Regions from separate parts of the Homo sapiens genome. Here region 1 is linked to region 2. Evidence: promoter capture Hi-C in 16 types of primary human blood cells and fetal thymus (Javierre and others, 2016). All regions are on one chromosome and are shown on one strand. Each heading gives the region's core, a stretch centred on a gene start or on the middle of the fragment in contact. The rest is flanking DNA. Distances are from core to core; before and after follow the strand shown.

The links. Contacts are between HindIII fragments. The CHiCAGO score rates a contact against its expected background, and 5 or more counts as called.
Region 1: a fragment that was not itself captured here is called in contact with the fragment with the promoter of SUOX in region 2 in 13 of 17 cell types (naive CD8 T cells, endothelial precursors, non-activated CD4 T cells and 10 more); the score reaches 9.3 in naive CD8 T cells.

The regions. Positions count from the first base shown.
Region 1 is chr12:55,753,578-55,758,420 of GRCh38, reverse strand. It overlaps GDF11 (growth differentiation factor 11), which reads right to left. Exons shown (of 3, transcript NM_005811.5): 3 at 1,157-4,843. It overlaps SARNP (SAP domain containing ribonucleoprotein), which reads left to right. Exons shown (of 11, transcript NM_033082.4): 11 at 868-1,151. The coding sequence ends at 909. Among named protein-coding and RNA genes, the nearest start is that of GDF11, 13 kb to the right of the region's middle. The HindIII fragment of the contact is 3,070 bases long and covers 68-3,137 here.
Region 2 is chr12:55,994,461-55,999,123 of GRCh38, reverse strand. It overlaps SUOX (sulfite oxidase), which reads right to left and starts at 1,848. Exons shown (of 5, transcript NM_001032386.2): 1 at 1,785-1,848; 2 at 1,401-1,509. It overlaps RAB5B (RAB5B, member RAS oncogene family), which reads right to left. Exons shown (of 6, transcript NM_002868.4): 6 at 2,441-4,663. RefSeq lists a silencer at 1,799-1,988 and an enhancer at 1,574-2,074. The HindIII fragment of the contact is 7,616 bases long and covers 364-4,663 here.

The sequences.
Region 1 (4,843 bases), core at 353-2,852, 240 kb after region 2:
CCTGCCTCGGCCTCTCAAAGTCCTGAGATTACAGGCGTGAGCCACCATGCCTGGCCTATGAAAAGCTTCTTCATGAATAAGTATCAGAGTCAGTCTTGTAAATTAAACCCTGAAAATTTTAGAGTCAGATCAGCTAACACTCTTCACTAGAAAAAAGCCAGAGGAGTTTGTATTCTGCTAGGGGCAGTGGTTGGGAGTGCCCATGAAGGACTTGGTGCTGTTCTGTGAGTCACTTCCAGAACCAGAAGTCTTCCCTCACCATTTTGTGTCCTCTCCAGTGTTGCTGTCTCCTTTAAGAGATCTATGATAGGGACTCACCCACATACCACTCACTCCCTATTCGTTCTGTTGGCATCAAAGATTTATATGCCTTTTTTGTGGGTTGGAGTCCTAAGGAATAGCTACTGTCTGGGCCTGACTGCTCAGAAGGGCATCTCCTTCACCTCTATGAATAGCATTGGTTAATCCTTTATCCTCTGAAATCTTCCGTCTCCCCATTGACTGGAAGACTTTTCCCAGCCTGTTAAGAGCCCATTGTTTCCAGGCTAGCTTGATCTCAGGCTGAGTGGCTCTCTTTGCTTCAGGAATCTTCCCATTTTCTACCACTGTTCTTCTCTCTGTCCCTCACCCCCAGTAATCTTCTTTACTCCTCACCCTCCTTACCCATTAAACTTTCCAGCTCCTACTGGATAACTGGAAGGATTGGAGAGATTCAGGAATGAAATCTCTAGCTACCAAGCTCAAGTCTGGGCCATCCTTCCTTCTCGGGCCTTGTGACAGTTCATGTGAGTTTGGATTAAAGCAGCCAGGAACCCAGGCAACTATTGTCTTCAGTCTAATTTTTTTCTTCTTGCTTCTTCTTTACAGGCAAAGAAGAGGAAAAGAGCAGAGCGCTTTGGGATTGCCTGATGAAAAGTTCCTGATACTTTCTGTTCTCCAGTGTTTTCCATTTCTCTCCTTCTTCTTGGTCACATATATGCCTAAATGCACAGTCATGTGCCTACGTCCTGCCTCGCAATGAGGGAGCATGTACCCCAGGTACATCCATGAACTGCGGCAGCAGTTTGACTTATTGCTGTTTCAGCTTTAAGGTTGTTGTGTTTTTGTTTTTGATTATGTTGCTTGTTAATAAAAAAAAATAGAAAAGAGAACAATGTGTTTTATTAGGTGCTCCTTTGATTTATTGGAGCTAGATTAGACCAGATAAGGGGAGCTTCAGGGGCAAATATTATAGAGAATTGGCCATAATACCTTTATCCCTTAGAAGAGAAGACAAGGAAAAGGACTGAGTTTACCCTTTAAGCCTGTTTATTCCCTTCTGTCATACTCACAAGCATTTTTTATCCTCTGTGAAGAGGTTAAGTTACCCACCCACCAAGTCTTTGCTCCAGCAGCTTGTAGTGACCCACTGAAATAAAACAGAACATGGGAGGTTTTAGGTGTTGCAAAGGATATAAATACAAGGGCAGTGATTAGTAGCCTTCTGTTATTAGCTAATAATGCAGACTTTTTCTTGGATAAAATGGAGTCCAGGGTCCCACATTAAAGGAAAAGGGCCCTGATTTCAAGGGTGATGTGATACGATACTATGTTGGTCAGTCAGTTCAGGAAGGGAGATGGGCTGGATATCCCTCAGAGACAGAAGAAATTTTGTATGCAGAATCAAAGCATGACAGAGGATGTCAGAGCTGTTACGCATTGTTAGCTAAATCATTGGGAACATAAGCAGTGGAACTGGAGGCTTCAAGTTCATGTAGATCTGAAACCTGCTTAATCTTTTTGGATATGTTATTGCAGAATTTCTCCTCTTAATCTTTATATAAGCTCGGTTTTTGTTTGAGCTATTTTTGGTAATAAGACTTAGGAGCCTGACACCTTACCTGAAGACTTTGGTACTATGATCAGGTCCCATGTTGCTGTGGTGTAATCCTTTATCCTTATTTCTACTAAAACCTGCCTGGTTTTGTGCTTAATGAAATGGTAATAGTTTGATCACCTTTCTAATGTCAAGATATCTCTTTATTTCTCCAAAGTCTCTGGTTGGTGAGGAAAGCAGGGACCTAAAGTTTAGATAATTTAGAAAAATTGTGCCTTGGAGAGCAGATCCAAAAACTGCTGCCCATTTGTTGTGAAGTTTGCCCCATTCTGAGACTTTGGAGAAGTGAACAAAAGGGAATGCTGGTTAAATTTTTGACACCTCTTCAACCAAATAAACCTTAAAATTGGAATGACCTTCCCTTTTCCCTCTTTTCTGTCTGCCTTCCTTTTCTTTACCTCAGGCTCTGATCTTGGGGCTAGCTTTTCCTCTCTCTACTCTGCCTTCATCTGAAAACAGAATAGATCTGATTTGTAACTTGAGAGATTATAGATTCACTAATGGTTTCTTCCTGAATATGGTTTTAAAAAGAGAAAAATACATGAGGGAATAGAGCAGATGCTGATTATGAAGTGGAACAGTGGATCTTTTGGAAGTTTTCTTCGTCTCTTTATCCTCTATAACCTTCCAGAAAGATATTCAGCCTTACTTGCCAGGATTCTCTTCTTGAAGCCTAATTATTCTCCTCACTCATCTTACTTCCCCTAGATCTTTGAACAGTGTTTTCCAATTTGTGAGGATTTTTTTTTTTTTCTTATTAACCTCTTTCATCCCATTTCAGCAGCTGTTCCTATGTTGGTCAGAAGTCTCTAACCTCCAAGCCAGATGAAGTCCTCCCCTTCCTATCTCATTATAGTCATTCTCCACATACTCTTTGAGCATGAATAGTTCAGGATGCCTTTTTCCCAATTCAGTTTTAAAATAGTAATTCCGTTTGGAGATGGAACAGACATTGAGGCTTGTAATTGTTTACCTGAGATCTTAGTACCCTTCCTTCCTCTCCCCGTTTCCCTACTATAGTTGATCCAGCATCCAGATGTGGTTAACTGATTCCAATTCCTGAAGCTGTGACATTCTCTGCATACCTGGAAGCTCTTAATGAGGGAGTCTATAAAAGCTGTGGGGAGAACTAGCTTCCTCAGCTGTAAATCTGTACTTTTTTATGGTTCTCTAGGATTATTCTTTTTTTCCACTCTCACTCTAAACTGCCCAGCCCCCCACCCCACCTCTTAAGAACTGCTGAAGATAGAGGCTAGAAGCTTCTGTGAGGATGAGGGCTATAGGAAGGAAGGTGTGAATAAGGGCAGGACTTCTTGGTGTTGAGCTGAGTTCTCTTGCTGTGTCTGATATGAGGAGTGAGGGAGGAACTTAAGGGAGGATAACTTTTTTGCTGTTCTCTTATATGAGGGCCTCTGGCAATGCCACTTATTTCTGATTATTGGAATCCCCCCAAAATTTAACCTCCCCTTCTCTTGCCATATCTAGACTTTTCTTGTTTTTCCCTTCCAAAGGGATTTAAAATTACAGGTTTCACATCTTTCCAGATTCTTTGAGTCCAAGGTGTCCCTAACTTTCTTGTTATCTCTTTCCCTTATGTTATTCCTGTATTTAGGTTTCTACCTCCCGGATCACTTTCAATAGGATAGATTAGAATGTAATATTGTTTAGCAACTACTTAGGTTTAATTTCTTATTCTACCACACTAGCTCTGAGACCCTGCGCAGATAATCATTCTCTTTTCAGACTGTACCAAAAGGAACCCCATTGTGAAGGTTGCTGTGTGAATTAAGTGATATTCTCATATCATGTATTCACACTACAATTTGCTTACCATAATTTGCATAGTAATTATTCAATAAATATTAGCTTTTACTGGGTGATCAGGGTACTGTGGAAATACATATTTCTTTCCCTGAGTAGGTTCTAGCTAGGTATGAGTGCCCTAGTTTGAACATGTTTGTGTGTGCATACACCCAGTTAATGCAGTCGTATTTTGAGAAAAAGAAAAGGCAGAAAGAGTCCCATTCACTCCCTCAAGCCCAGCTCACTGGCAGGAAAGCTGGACATTGTTGCTTTGGAGCATTGATTTTCCTGCTTCTACGCCACTACAGACCAGAAGCTGTAGATGCCACTGCCTGCTGATTCTTAGCTTGGGGCCCCTGCCATTTAAAATATAGGCAAGGTCAGAGTATAGGATAGCTTCCCATGCCTTCGGTTGGAGGATGTTTTAGGATAAAGAAAAGACTTGTAAAAAGTCATCTTGAGTAGTCTTTTTTTGGGTGTTCTCTCAATATAGGAAACAAATGAGCCACAGGGAGAGAAAACCCATTTTCAGCTCAGGCCAAAGTTAGGGGTAGATGTGGATATGGTTCCCTTGGGAAGATAGAATACATAACACTTCTGCTACTCAACCACTTCCAGCCTTAGTCTTGTAGTTGGTCTCGAGTGGGGTCAGTGTGCTGATAGAACTGATAAGACAGGGAAAACATGGCAGTACATTGAACCCGCAGTAGCGCTGTCCCCAATTCTGGATCAGGTTGATGTCACAGGAGCTTTCCTTATTTTTATTTTACTTTAATTATTTTTAGAGACAGTGTCTTACTGTGTTGCTCAGCTTGGAGTACAGTGGCTATTTACAGGCCCAATTATAGCACACTGCAGCCTTGACCCTCTGGCCTCAAGTGGTCCTCCTGCCACAGCCTCCTGAATAGCTGGAACTACAGGAGCACACCACTGGGTCCTGCTTTCCTTTTTTTTTTTTTTTTTTTTTTTTTGGAGATGGGAGTCTCACTCTGTCACCATGCTAGAGTGCAGTGGTGCGATCTCAGCTCACTGCAACCTCCGCCACCTGGGTTCAAGCGATTCTTCTGCCTCAGCCTTCCATGTAGCTGGGATTACAGGCGCACGCCACCACGCCCGGCTAATTTTGGGTATTTTAGTAGAGATGAGGTTTCACAATGTTGGCCA
Region 2 (4,663 bases), core at 599-3,098:
ACTTTTTTTTGGCCAGTCATGGTGGCTCATGCCTATAATCCCAAAATTTTGGGAGGCCAAGGAAGGAGGATCACTTGACTCCAGGAGTTCAAGACCAGCTTGGGCAACATAGTGAGACTGTGTCTCTAGAAAAAAAAAAACAAATTAACTGGGCATGGTGGTGCCTGTCTGTAGTCTCAGCTACCGGGGTGGTGGGGAGAGGAGTGCTGAGATGAGAGGATGGCTTGAGTCCAGGAGGTCGAGACTGCAATGAATTATGATGGCGCCACCGTACTCCAGCCTGGGCAACAGGGCAAGACCTTGTCTCAAAAAAAAAAAAAGCCTGGGCGATGGAGCAAGTGTCGATCATGGCTCACTGAAGCTTCAACCTCTTGGGCTCAAGCCATCCTCCTGCCTTAGCCTCCCCAGCAGCTGGGACTACAAGTGTGTGTCACCAAGCCTGGCTAATTTTTCTGTAGACATGGGAGTCTATGTTGTCAGGGCTGGTCTTGAACTCCTGGCCTCTTGCTGCCTTAGCCCCCAAAGTGCTGGGATTACAGGCATGAGCCACTGTCCGGCTTCCCCTCCCCTCCCCCTGCCCCTGACAGGGTCTTGCTCTGCCCAGGCTGGAGTGCAGTGGCGTGATCTCAGCTCACTATAGCATCAAACTTCTGGGCTCAAGCCATCCTCCTGCCTCAACCTCCTGAGTAGCGGGGACCACAGGCGTGTGCCACCATGCATGGTCTTTTTTTTTTTTTTTTTGTAGAGATGAGGTCTTACTATGTTGCCCAGGCTGGTCTCAAACTCCTGGGTTCAAGTGATCCTTCAAACTTGGTCTCACAAAGTCCTGGGATTATTACAGGCATGAGCCACCACTCCCAGCCTCAAAATATCTTATTGTACTGTGTTCAACTATTTTCCAAGCGGTTGACCATAGCTAACTGAAACTCAGGAAAAGGAAACTTTGGATAAGGGGAGACTGCTGTAATAACATTGTCTTTGAAGGCTTTTCAGTCCCCAACTCTCCCTCCATTCACCCTAAAAAAAATTGAACCCAGCTGGGAACTGGACCCCAACCTAGGGTCCCGGACCACCTCAATCTTCTCTGTGCCACTGTAGTGAGCTCAGCAAATTGAGGAGTTAATGGCCAGAGTGTCAGGGGCAGGCTGGAGAAGGAAGGTAATTTTTCTGCTCTCTGCCCTGCAAGTTTCTTCCTCAAATTGCTGAACAGAGAGCACTGACCCAGCAGGGCCAAAGTGAGGAGGGGTGACAAATGTCTAAACTGCTGATGAGATGCTGGAGACCAATGTGCTGGGGTGGGTGGGTCGTGGGTAGGGAGGAAAGGAAACCTAGAGATGGGAATAGGAGCAGTCTTCACCTTGCCCCTGGGCCATGGGACCATTACTCTCTCTGCCACCTACCTCAATGCCAGCAGCCTGTTTGTACTAGACCAGAGCAGTGCAGGTAGGGCTGACTCGCAGGTGAACTCAGTGAGCCCAGAATCCCAGGTTTGGGAGGGACAGCCTTTTGCTGTAATACAGAAATGCCACCCGTTGGTGCAGGTGATGACCCCTCACTCCCCATGGGCACGTTAGGTAGGAACATACGTCCGGCATCCAGGCACAAAAGGGTCTTGCGGCAACACCCCGCGATCTCAAGAGCACCCAGACAGAAGGAGTGGAGGCAGGTACTGATAGTTTTGTTGCCCTTGAGGTTCGGAGCACAGCTGGACACCAAGGCCCCCTCCGCTGCCCAGCTCAGCAGCCCTTCCTCCCCAGCTTCTTTACCACCCCCAGTCTCCTTACCGGGTCCAGTGTCTTCAGCACTGCAATTTTACCAGCCCAGCTCTGCGAGTTCTCGAGAAGGGGCGGGGCCAGCGCCGTTATGTCCGGCTGCAGTAAGTGACCTCTCACTCCCCTCAGCTTATCCCTCAGCCATTGGCTGGAAGCGGGTGGCTCAACCATTGGCTGGAACCCGCCTCCTGGAGCCGAGACAGGCAGGTTGCTAAGAAGCCTGGGAGAAGAGGCTGGCTCTTTTTGCTGTCACTCTCGCCAACAGTCCGGAGTCCATTATACCCCTGGTGTGCAAAGAATGGGACCCTTGTGCACCAGGGCTGTATGTCCGGAGCTCGGGCAGTGTGGAAGGTGACAAGGAATCCAAAAGTTGGGCTGACAGGTGGGAGATTTTGAGACACCCCTGCCGCCCCTCCCTGGAGGAGGCCTCGGGATCCAGTCCGGTTTTCCCCGGCTGTGATCTCCACTTTAAACCCAGGGTAGACCTACCTCTATCTACTCTGTTGCAACTACAACTACCCTGTTTATCTTTTAGGGAAAGCAAAGTCAATCGCTTAGTTCTCGTATTCCAGGAATGATAACAGAAATGCCTAAAATAGTGGTTCCAAGAATTTGAGATTCCTTGGGCTAGTCGAATTTCTCCCCAAACAAAAATGAAACAACAACACTGAATAGCCGTCTTTTATTTTGCGTAGAAAAAAAAAATAATAATCGCCCCTTGGTGGCACACGCCTGTAGTCCCAGTACTCGGGAGGCTGAGGCGGGAGGATCGCTTAAGCCCAGGAGTTCGAGGTTGCACTGAGCCAAGATCGCGGCACTGCACTCCAGCCTGGACAACAGAGCAAGACCCCATCTCTTAAAAAACAAACTGCCCCTTAACAAGAGCAATGGCAGCTTAACACCCCGAAGTATGAAGGTTGTAGTCTCTTATCTCAAAGTAAGGGGCATAAATATAATACATTTCCTATTACCCTTTTGTCATTTGATGCAGGACAAAATTTATCAAACCTAGTCCCCCAATCTGGACAAATGTATCCATACACTGCCCTCTAGAGGCCGGACGGTGGAGCTGCAATTTTAATCAGTTTAAGTGAAGGTGTTCACCTTTAATTTTGAAAGATCATTTCCTTTCCTTTCGGCTCTCCAACTAGAGCTTTTACCAGGAATCAGGGAACGGGGGTGGGGGGTATTACCAAGAGATATAAGGTAAGGGAACCGACAGTGAAAAGTTGGCAAGTTGGCTTTGGCTCTTAAGTGTTTGGAAATGGAAAGGATTTCAATCTGTATACAATCAAATCACTGAAGAAGGCTAATGCCCAACCTATCCTACCAGTTGTTAAAAAAAAAATATATATATATATATATATGTATATATATATGGAGAGAGAGAGAGTGAGAGAGAGAGAGAGAGGGAGAAAGAGGGAGAGAGAGAGAAAGCGAGCTTCAACCTAAAAAAAAAAAAGTCTCAGCCAAAGGAAGATACAGAGAAGTCAGTTAGGGACTATCTAAAAGCCTCCTTCCTAATAGTGTCATCTACTTTTGTGTGACACACATACTTTACATAATTGACCTTAATCTTCAGCTTTTACTTTACAGATGAAGAAACGAGGCGGAAGGCACTAACTAACTTGATCAAGGCCACAGCTGGTTAAGTTGACAGAGACAGGCCTAGAATGTCAGATTTGTCTGGCACCAGTCCTCTTTCCTATCCACCTTCAGATTCTTTGGAATTTAAAGCCTACTGCAACCACACATAATCCTATTTCATTTCCCTTCCCTCGACCTTTAGACTGTGGTGGACTGAAGGGTTTGAAGTACACTAGGAGTCAAGAGCAGATCCAGAGGAAATTTTCCCGTTGAGGTGGAAGCTACAAGAAAACTAACTCAGTGATGTTTTTCAACCTTTGGGTCATGGACCCCTTTGAGAAACATATAGAAATGGATCCTAGAAATATGCACATACGGCCGGGCGCAGTGGCTCACGCCCGTAATCCCAGCACTTTGGGAGGCCAAGGTGGGTGGATCACGAGGTCAGGAGTTCAAGACCAGCCTGACCAACATGGTGAAACCCCGTCTCTACTAAAAATACAAAAATTAGCTGGGTGTGTTGGTGCGTGCCTGTAATCCTAGCTACTCAGGAGGCTGAGGCAGGAGAATCACTTGAACTCAGGAGGCGGAGATTGCTGTGAGCCAAGATCGTGCCACTGTACTCCAGGCTAGCGACAGAGACTCCGTCTCAATTAAAAAAAAAAAAAGAAATATGCACATACATTTTTGTATACTACTTCAAATAGCACCCCTCTCTCTAATCTGATCAGTGGGCCCAAAGATCCACAGACCATACCCTACACATATACATTCTGTTAAGAGGGCCTAAAAAGATATAATAGGGTTTGATTTGATGAACAATCTAGTGGCCTTAGAAGAGGGGTGATTAAATAGCAATAGAAGGGCTATTTTCTAAACTAGATGTTTAAGAAAAGATTAAAGGGAATAAAGATGTATCAAGATGCAGGGAAAGGTGTGTTTCTGATTCAGTAGAACATTACTGGGTATCCTTTCTTCCAAATTCCTAGTACCTGACAAATAGCAAAAATAATAATAATAATAACAATAAAATAAAAAAAAGCAACACTCCAATGCCCTTTTCTTTTTTTCCTTTTTTTACTTACATTAAATACATCGGTAAATCAGCAGTCGCATTCTGTTACCACGATTGTTATGTTGGGAGAGGAAGAAAGGCAAATGCTTTCTCAGAAGCAAAACAAAAACAAAAAACCACAACACCCCCCCTTAAAAAAACTGACCAGAAGAAAAAAATGAGCTGGGAAATAAACAAAAGAAAACTAAGATCCCCAAGCCCAACAGAGCTCAAAGGAAGGCAGAAGAGG